Linked DNA regions of Homo sapiens: region 1 is linked to region 2. Evidence: promoter capture Hi-C in human tissues and cell types (Jung and others, 2019). All regions are on one chromosome and are shown on one strand. The core of a region is centred on a gene start or on the middle of the fragment in contact, and the rest is flanking DNA. Distances in the headings are between cores, read along the strand shown. Region 1 overlaps PAPPA (pappalysin 1). Region 2 holds the start of PAPPA-AS1 (PAPPA antisense RNA 1).

What was found. Contacts are between HindIII fragments. The study calls those that stand out against the background at their distance.
Region 1: a fragment that was not itself captured here is called in contact with the fragment with the promoter of PAPPA-AS1 in region 2 in 5 of the 25 tissues and cell types used here (H1 embryonic stem cells, IMR-90 fibroblasts, mesenchymal stem cells and 2 more).

The regions. Positions count from the first base shown.
Region 1 is chr9:116,283,947-116,289,009 of GRCh38, reverse strand. The region is part of intron 9 of PAPPA (pappalysin 1); the gene reads right to left. It overlaps PAPPA-AS2 (PAPPA antisense RNA 2), which reads left to right. Exons shown (of 6, transcript NR_170222.1): 5 at 118-334; 6 at 1,422-3,182. Among named protein-coding and RNA genes, the nearest start is that of PAPPA-AS2, 77 kb to the left of the region's middle. RefSeq lists enhancers at 1,886-2,460, 2,461-3,037. The HindIII fragment of the contact is 4,653 bases long and covers 776-5,063 here.
Region 2 is chr9:116,397,819-116,402,624 of GRCh38, reverse strand. PAPPA-AS1 (PAPPA antisense RNA 1) reads left to right here and starts at 2,019. Exons shown (of 1, transcript NR_103711.1): 1 at 2,019-4,468. It overlaps PAPPA (pappalysin 1), which reads right to left. Exons shown (of 22, transcript NM_002581.5): 22 at 304-4,806. The HindIII fragment of the contact is 20,173 bases long and covers 1-4,806 here.

The sequences.
Region 1 (5,063 bases), core at 1,853-4,352, 110 kb after region 2:
CCAGTGGGCCAAGGACTCGAGGATGAGTCAGGCACCACATGAAAACCAAGCCAGTTACCCCAATCTGGCATAGCTGGTTGTGACTAAGGTGACCGCAGCATGCTATGTTCTTGGCAGGGCTCCCATGCAGAAACCAGAGTGTTAAAATGGATCCCTCCCACCCTGAACTCTGACTGGTTTGGTTCACCTCAAAGACCATCCTCCTGCTATATGGTTTCGATAAGTCTAAAAAGATGAGCCATTCAAGCCACAGTGTCTTCTATCTCCAAGCTGGTGAGACACACTGCAGTCCTCTACAGAACAGAAGAGAGACAGTGCACAAGATTGCTCTTGGGTAAGTTTTCTTTTTCTTATGTAATGAATGGGTTACTCTTCAGCCCTTAGAATAAAAATACTATAATAACTTAAATCTATATGTTCTGATTTGTATTGCTTAGCTGTAATTTTCTTCTTTAACAAGGTGTGTATATGTCTTTCTCATCTCTCAGTAAGAAGAGGGAAAGCAGTGAGAGAAGGAAGAAAGGGAGGCAGGGAGGGAGGGAGGGAGCAAGGAAGGAAGGAAGGGAGGGAGGGAGGGAGGGAGGGAGGGAGACAGAAATAAATTGGTCCTAAATCTTTTCTCTTTTTCTTTTTTTGACACCTGGGCTTGAGTGCGCTCTGTCACCTGGGCTTGAGTGCGGTGGCGCAATCTTGGCTCACTGCAACCTCTGCCTCTCGGGTTCAAGCGATTCTCTTGCCTCAGCCTCCCAAGTAGCTGGGATTACAGGCACGGACCACTACACTCGGCTAATTTTTGTATTTTTAGTAGAGGCAGGGTTTCACCATGTTTGTCAGGCTTGTCTTAAACTCCTGACCTCGTGATCCGCCCATTTCAGCCTCCCAGAGTGCTGGGATTATAGGTGTAAGCCATCGCGCCTGGCCTGGTCCTAAATCTTAAGAGTTAACTGGGAACATTTGAAAATATCAATCAAAACCACTGCCCTTTTTGATCAGGGATGATAAGAGTCATCATAACTATTCATGTTCACGAAAAGTTCCAAGAAGCAGTCACTCTGAAGTCAGATTCCGCCAAATGAAGGATGTGTTTGCCCAAACAAAAGCATGAGACTGCAGATTGAGTCATTGGCTATAGATTCCAAGCTAGAGGCCAGAGAAGTTGTCTCCAGTCCTAGCTGGACCAGTCATGGCTGAAGAGGCCAATTCTGGGCCACTGATGTGGTAGGATATGGTCAAAGAATAGGACCCTGGATAGGCACCAACCACTGAGCAATAATCATGTAGGTATGAAGATGCTTAACCTGAAGAAAAGAAGGCTCAGGGAGGACACAATGGAAAACTCTTCTAACAAAGTACAGTTGGTCTAAAATTGAAAGTGGTTGCCCTAGAAGATACTGAGTTATTCATTCAACTTTTCCCAACAGGAGCTTGATGATGATTGACAAGGTGTACTCTGGTCCTTGCCTGCCTCTGCAGGCTTCTCTCTTCTCGAACGCACTCTAGTCTAAGCTCCAGACACAAATTGTCGTTGCCCTGAGTGGACCATGTTCCCTCTCACCTCCCCACGTTTGCAGAAGCTTTCTTCAAATCCCCAGAGCTGCCTTTTCTGTGACTAGTCCCCATTTGTCCTTTATTCACAGTTTAACCTCTCAAAAACCTGCCTGGAAACCCACCCCCAGAAGGGCTAATGGACCCTCACTAGGTCTTCCTATACCATCATCCGCTTCCCCAGTTAAAATTGTACTTAGCGTATTTGTGAAATGAATAACTGGATGACTTTCTCCATGCTGGGCATTGTGCTAAATGTTTCAAGTACATAAGGCATTCAAATCTAGAAGAGCCCCGTGTTTGGTCCTATTATTATCCCCATTTTACAGACAATGAAATTGAGGTTTCAAGAGGGTAAGTCATTCCCATGCTGTCCAGTTAATCTATTTTGAATGGATGTGGATATTCAGGAGAATCTGATGAGATGGGCTGATCTGATTCTCTCTCGGATGCCCTATGATTTGGCACTACTTGGGGGCTCAGGGGCCTGATGGAGCTGTGATCACAACCTGGCTCTTCACTAATTAGCTGGTGTCAATGACCAGCACACTTTAGCCCTGAGTCCGTTTCCTCTTTGGCAAATTGGCAAAATAATGACTACCTTCCCAACTGTTATGAGGACAAAAAAATGAGAAGCTGTTGAGAAAGCACGTAGCACCACATCCAGCATTTAAAAAACAAATTTTTTAAAGTAAAAGATGAGGAGTTTCCCTTTCCTTAAAGGAAGTAATCTGTCTCTGCTACCTTGTGCCACAGTTAAACTGCACAGGCTCAATAACTTATGTTTTGGTTAAACGTTTTTAATTTTTTTAGAGTGAAATCCGAGTTTTTGTTGGCAAGTGATTGAACACGCTGGGCCCAGCCTGCAGGCCCACAGTCCATTAGGAAATTTACGAGGCGAGATGGGGACCTTCAGCTCAAGTACTCCCTTCAGACGCAGTACTTACAAAGCCATCAATTTCCTTAACAAAGAGCATTGGCTTAAATGCCCCTTAAAGCAGTGTTATTTACACAGCTATCCACTTCCTTTTGAATTCTCTGCCTGGGGGGTGGCAGACCTGCAGTTCTTTCCAGCTACGAGTTAATTAGGCTCTCTCCCCAAATGGAAGCAAGCCGCAGACTGAGATTTGGTATTAAAAAGCAGCTCAATTTGGGGCCATCCGAGAGTCTTATGGGGTGATCCAAATACCACCAAAATCACTGGTTCCACCCACCCATTCTTCTAAAATTCTAAAGCCTTTGGACCTTACCAAAGAGTAATGACCTCTGTCAGTATAGAGATAGAGAAGGAAAGGCAGCATTTGAGCCCGTCTCTACTTAGTGAAAGAAGCCTCAAAAAAGTACTGCTGGCTAAGATAGCATACTTTCTACCTCTTGGTGTATCGATATAGTAACATTAACATTTTAAAGAAGCCCCCACCCCTTTTGTGGGGGAACTAGGATTTGGATACAAGCAGCCCAGTTCAGGGGTCTGAGCATGAAACCACCACCCCAAGCCACCTGACCCAAGATAACCTGCCCGAGATGACAGCTAAGGGGGAAAGTCTCCTATTCAAACAGGATTGTCTGACTCTAAAGACCAGCAAAGCTCAACTACACTTTCTTGCCTGAAAAATAAAACTGTCTCTTAAGAAATACATCCTTCTTTTACTCATTTATTCTATATTTACTGAACTGCAAATTATTTGTCAGTCCCTGGACTAACTCTTGGGAAATCAGATGAATTAAAGCAGGTCTCAGTGCTCCAAGAACTCAGGTCCTAGTGAGAGGGGAGATATGTAAATGATGACGGCACAGGATTCTGACCCTCATGAGGTACAAGATACTGTGGGAGCACAGAGGAGGGACCCCCAATCCAATCTAACCCAGATTTAAGAAGGTTTCCCTTAGGAGGCAACACCTGGGCTGTATCTCTCAGAGGAGGAACGGGTGGTGAGGAGCACATTCCAGCAGGGGGACACTGTGAGCAAATGAGATGAGGCCAGCAATATAGTAGGAGGTATAAAGCACAAGATGGTATTGGAGTATAAAATGCAAATCCTGGCCGAGGTGGGCAGGACACAAGGTCAAGAGATCGAGACCATCCTAGCCAACATGGTGAGACCCCATGTCTACAAAAATACAAAAATTAGCTGGGTGTGGTGGTATGTGCCTGTAGTCCCAGCTACTTGGGAGGCTGAGGCAGGAGAATCACTTGAACCCAGGAGGTGGAGGTTGCAGTGAGCCCAGACAGTGCCACTGCACTCTGGCCTGGCAACAAAGTGAGAATCTGTCAAAAAAAAAAAAAAAAAAAGAAAGAAAGAAAAGAAAAAGAAAAAGAAAGAAAAAAGAAAAAGAAAAGAAAAGCAAATCCTGGGCTCAGATCACGCAAGGTCTTAAATGACACAGTAAGGAATTTAAATTTATCTCAAGGGCAACATGGAGCCATCTGACACTCTCAATTGGAGAGCAACAAAAGGTGTCTGCACTTTAGGAAACTTGCTCTCACCTATGGGCAGGTAGATTGGGGCAAGCAAAAAAATGAACAAGCAACATGTTCATTTTACAAGCTTTCTCTTATAAAAGCCTAATCAGGAGCTGAAGAGGGCCTCAGGTAGAGTAATGATCATGGGGCGAGAGAGACTGATTTGGACGCAGACAAGATAACGTTTTCAAAGTAAAATGGGAAGAATGGCAATTATTTGGATGTGGGAAATGGCAGAGAGGGAAGAGTTATGGATGTTTCCCAAGCTTCTGTTTAAATGTCTGGTTGGCTACTGGCGCCACCAGTTGAGATTAGGAAAAACACTTGCAGCAGGTCTGGAAAGAAAGATGGCAAGCTTTGTGTAAGATGTGTCGAATGTGAGTTCCCTTGGGGCGTCAAAGTAGAGCAATTAGATATACAAGTTCATGGGTCAAAAAAAAAAAAAAAAAAAAAAAGGCCCAGACTAAAGATAGAGATTTTGGAGTCATACAAGGAGAGAATGGAGAATGAGAAGTGTGCCTATTATGGAACATTGGAGACTGCTGATACTTAAAGAGTAGGTGAAAGAAGGTCTGTGGAGGGATGGTCAGAAAAGTTAAGAAAAACAGAAGAGGCTAACACTTCACAGGTACCAGGAGTTCTGAATTTCAAGAAAGAGCCAGATAAGACAAAAGAGAAAAATATTGAAATATGTCTGTTTGAACATGCTATTTAATAGAATCTCATGCATGACTTCCCTAAAGAATGATTCTCAAATTTCTGCTCAATCTCTTCCGGGGACAGGTCACTCTCTACTTGTGAGTAAGAACTAGATTATTATTTTTGTTAGCCATAATAATCAATATTTGTTGATCACTTTCTGGAAGACAGGAACTGTCACAAACACAGGCATCCTTGGTGTCTAGCATGAACCTGGCACATAAGAGGTGCTCAATAAATAAAAGCCTATGTGATGAATGAATAAGTTTATAAATTAATAAAACAATATATCATAACAATCATATGAAGTCAGGAATATCACTCCTACTTCTCAGGTGGAAAAAGGTATTTGGGG
Region 2 (4,806 bases), core at 770-3,269:
TGTTTACATCTGGAAGTATATTATTAAAGGCTGTGTGCAAAAGGCAATATATAACCAAGAGTGACATATGCTTTAGCTCCCCAGAACTTTCTTATAACATGTAAGAAAGTTTTTCAGTTTTTGCATATGCAAAATTAGATACTTTCAGGAATTAATTTTGTAGAGGAATCGATATATATTGGATAAAATCTTGTTCTATCATTGATTGTCTAATTCCAGGCCCCAGGGCTCTCTCCATGTTAGCGTGTATATATGACAGCCCTTTATCATTCCGCAACACACAAAAACCACACAACAACACACTGAAGCGTACAAGCTATTATATATTTTCATAATATAGAACTTTAAAGTATAGTAATCAACAGTGGCAAAATATTTCTGTCTCTGACATTATTATTTGTGAGATCCAACCTGTAATTGAGATCAGAGAAAACAGTATGGGAAAACAAATCCATGAGAACAGGATAAAAATATCATGAACAGCAAAATATGTCTGAGTATTTAAAACTGTATAGAAAAAATAAATTAGATGAACAATTGTGTAAATATAAATTAAAAAAGATGACATTCTTAATAAATAAAGTTTACTATTTACATTTTTATATATTGCCAAAAGATTTAACTTAGATCCATAAAAACACATAAACAGAAAAAAAAATAGGAGCAGCAAATTTATGCGCGTGAGGTACAGAAAAAGGATTGGAATTGTGTTTAGTTTTTGGTGTTTAGATTATTTTCTTTGTGTCTTTCTTCTTTTTCTTTTTTTTTTTCTTTTTTACAATAGGCCAGAAGAATTCTTATGAGAACAGCTTTTAAGCACTTCAATGGAGTGTCATTTTTTTGGTAGCTTCCAGAAGGTGCCAAACAGGTTTCAACATCATATTAATTAGAAATACCCATAATAATTATAACAATAATAAAAAGGTATAATATGGTACATAAATATGGAAGAGCAGTTTGTAATATGAATACATTTTCTCTAGACGAGATCACAGTTTTATTTTGTAAATATTACATTTAAGTATATATATACACACATATATGTACAACTATATATACATGTGCATATATATGTAAATTTATATTTATATATAATATCTTTATATAGATAGATATCTGCAGACAGGTTATTGATTATAGAGACCCAAGAAAGCAACTCAATAATTGTTCAAAGTTTTCCTCACTGACTGCTGGTGTGTAGTTTAAGAAGCCCCCATTTGTTTGCACTCAGAATGCCTTATCTTCTTTTAATGGAACACTTGATGTGGAATTTTAAGTCTGAGAAGTGAGGTGCCTTCTGAAGAAGAGATTTTAGAGACTCCCTTCCTCTATAAGTTGGAAATGACCAGAAGTCTTAAGTAGACGACAGTTAGCTGACTTTGACATTGTAGGACATAATCAGCTTTTAACCAAATTATAGAACTGGTAAAGGGTAAGATCAAATTTGCCAAAAAAATAAAATATTCTCCAATACAGGTCTCTCTTTTAAGGTGGACTACAATTCAGGAGCTCCGGCTTTATTCCTTGAAATATCAAACAAGCACTCCCTGTCTTGTCTTTCTAAAAGGCCGATGGGCCTGTGCATTCTTGAATAATAACCCATGGACTTTGTGTCAAGCGTTGGCCCTCACAGCCCACCTAAAACCTCAGGGCCTCAAAATCTCCTGCCCTCCCACTGTGAGGTAGGTATATAGTATTATCCCCATTTTGCAGCTAGAGAAACTGATGCAAATGTAGAGGCAATTGGATAACTTGTTCAAGATCACTGAGCAAACTGCTGCCTGGAGTCAAAAATTCTAACTTCTGTACAACAGGGACATAATTTCTCTTTTGGCTATTATACATTTCTTTTAAAAAGCAAGTGATTGGTAGGAATTTGGCAAAAGTTGAATAAGTTACAAGAACAGGCTTTTATTCATTTGCTATTTGGTTTTTATGTTTCTTGTTTACTTCGTTTGATTTGTTTCTCAAAACTCACTCAGTGGGATTACCTGTCTGTCATGTAGCAGCTTTTTAAAAAACTGGACTGTGCAGTGTGGTTCTGAGTGCAGTCTTTATAAAGCCCAGTGCTGTACTGGTAAATATAAACATTTTATAACGTGAAAAGCACAACGACACAATATGTCCCCTTAATAGCTGGAAAAACCAATATAAGCCCTCCCACTCCCTACTACCACTGATTGCCACCAAACAAATAAACAAAATGCCCACCCCACCCAACAACAACAATAACACATCAAGGGGGAAAATGTCATATTTCCTGGACCTACCACAATGTACAGAAAATAACAGACAGTGTTATCAAATCCCACTCTATGTCTTCTAGGGAAATCTTTATGTTTGTGTCTACCTACTGAGGCTGTAGAATAAACAATTTCCTTTAGGAAACATAAAAATAGGTTTTTTATTCTTAGTTTTTAATCATGCATTTTTATTTCCTTTTAATCTCTTTGTCTTCTATTATCTCTATCTGTACAGCTTTGTCACCATTTTTTTTTATTTTCTCACTTGAAGTAGTTCCAGAAAAAAACACAAAACCTCAAAACTGTTAACTTGACCTTATAATTTCCTTTCTCTTTCTTTCTTTCTTTCTTTTTCTTTCTTTCACACAGGTAAGACCTATAACAACAAATTGACAATTACAACCAAGTTAAATCGAACCTGGAAGGGAGGTAGCTGAAATCTGTCTCAAAGAATTATTTTCAACAAATAGTATTTAAGCATTGGCCAGGATGGGAATAAGACCAAGAGAACCGTCTAGGCAGTGACTCAATGTGTTGAAGCCAGGAGTGGCAGCTGATACCCTGCATTTTCAAAGCCCTACCATCTATGACAATCTTTCCCTTCCTTAACACCCCAATTCACCATCAAAACTCATTTCCCAAGGACTGTATTTCCTTAAAAGGTTGTTGGCACAGAATCTGGGGGTAATGCAAATCCTTTGGGTAGGTAGTTAAGATTGTGGCTTGGAAAAGCTTCCCTAAATAGGGCTTAGAGGACTGTCCACCTCATCTTTCATATTTTGCTGCTAACAATCTAATACTTCAGATGCAGAACCTTCAGTGTTTTAGGGCCTTTGAGCTGCTGACACACAATAGTGCATCAGAGCTGCCTCTCAGTGCTCCGGTCACCTACACAGAAGATGACTGAAGGAATGAAATGACGAGTTAATTCCCAGGAAGAAAATGAAACTGGGAACAAATGCATTGCCCAAATTGAGCTGACCCTCCTCCACTAAGGTTTGAAAAGACCCTATTAAAGATACCTTCCATGTGGGCACGAGGTTGGCCACCAATCAAGTAGCCTCTTTTGCCTAATATCCTTGGCAAATATAAATTTGTTAGCAACAGGTCTGAATGAAAGAGACTGGGTGGGTCTTGATTCAGAAGAGCTGAATTCACTCTGTGAGTCTGAAGATACAAGTCAGCCTCCAGGAATCTTTGCTTAGCTGGATAGTGTGAAAATAGATGATGATGGGAGTGAAGATAGAAAGAGGATAAGGACTGATTTGAGGGAAGCTGGTAAGGTTCTTCTGTGGCTCCTGAAATCACATCATTAGTAATGTCATCTTTGGGTCTTCAGAGCTTTTTGTATTACCTATGGGTATAATTAAGCAACTGGGAGGGTTGATACTGTTACATTTCTTAGCTTGTACCTTCTAAGGTAGTTAACACCACACAGGCTGATAACTCAGGGCAAGAGAGAGGCCTGGAGAGTTGACAAGAGTGTGAAGATACTGGAGAGGGGTTCAAAATAGGATCAATTCTTCTAATACTATTCTTATTTCTTGCTAATAATTTGTCCTTGTAATTATAGTGAAGTAATGGTCTGGATATAAATGAGATATGGTTTTGTGAGGAAGAAACATAGAGGATTATTCTTAACAACTGTGGCAGCCTTGCCAATATGGAACCCAATTTCAGAGTTTGTGAAATGGTACAAGTCTCATAAACTATCTCAGCACTGCATCCGTATTTGTGGGCACCTGTGCCAAAAGCACCTTGATATGTTTCTTAGTGTAATTGGCCAGAGATGGCCAATAGATGTCTTCTCAAGTGTTTTTGATCACCAGGTCAGTGCTATTGGGAGTGATATAATATGGTGGTTCCTAAAGTTATTTTTGGTCTCTTTTTTTTTTTTTTTTTAAGTGCTATGATAGATTAACAACACCTGCCTTGGATGCAGGAATTAGGTGGGGCTGCACACGTGCATGGTATTTTCTATCCCTATGCTAGGTTTTGTTTCTGTTGGCTGTCTTCACTAGACTTGAGATGACTTGATTTACAGTAATCCCTATGTGATGTAACTAGTCTAGACCTTCCCTTCTCCGCAATTCCCAGCTCCAGGTTTCAGAAAGTATGCCACACTCAACCCTTCTCTCCAGTTCATCCTGTATTAATTTCTTCCCATATTAATTCAAAGGGAGTGGACAGGTCCCTGGCTGAAAAGAAATAAAGAGATCCCCAAAGTGGTGGGGGCTTCCACGTGCAGTTGACTAATTTTCACTTAACTTTTGGAGGCTAGACATGGGAGAGAGAAAAGCACTGCCCAGTCACAGGTATGGAAGGGAGTACTGCTAGCTGGAAAAACCATATAGAAAACATGATGACCATGTTGAGTTGTTGGTGCTGAGGCTGTGAACTCTTTGGCTTCCTTCTGATGGCCCTCTTGAGAACAATCTGTACTGTTCTTATAAAAGATTCTTTCTCCCAGAATTATATCTCCTCAGAGCAACAGCAAGGTTCTCAGGATCAAAGCCTACTCTAGCCTGAAGGGCTAGGAAGATTAGGATAAGGATAAGGATAA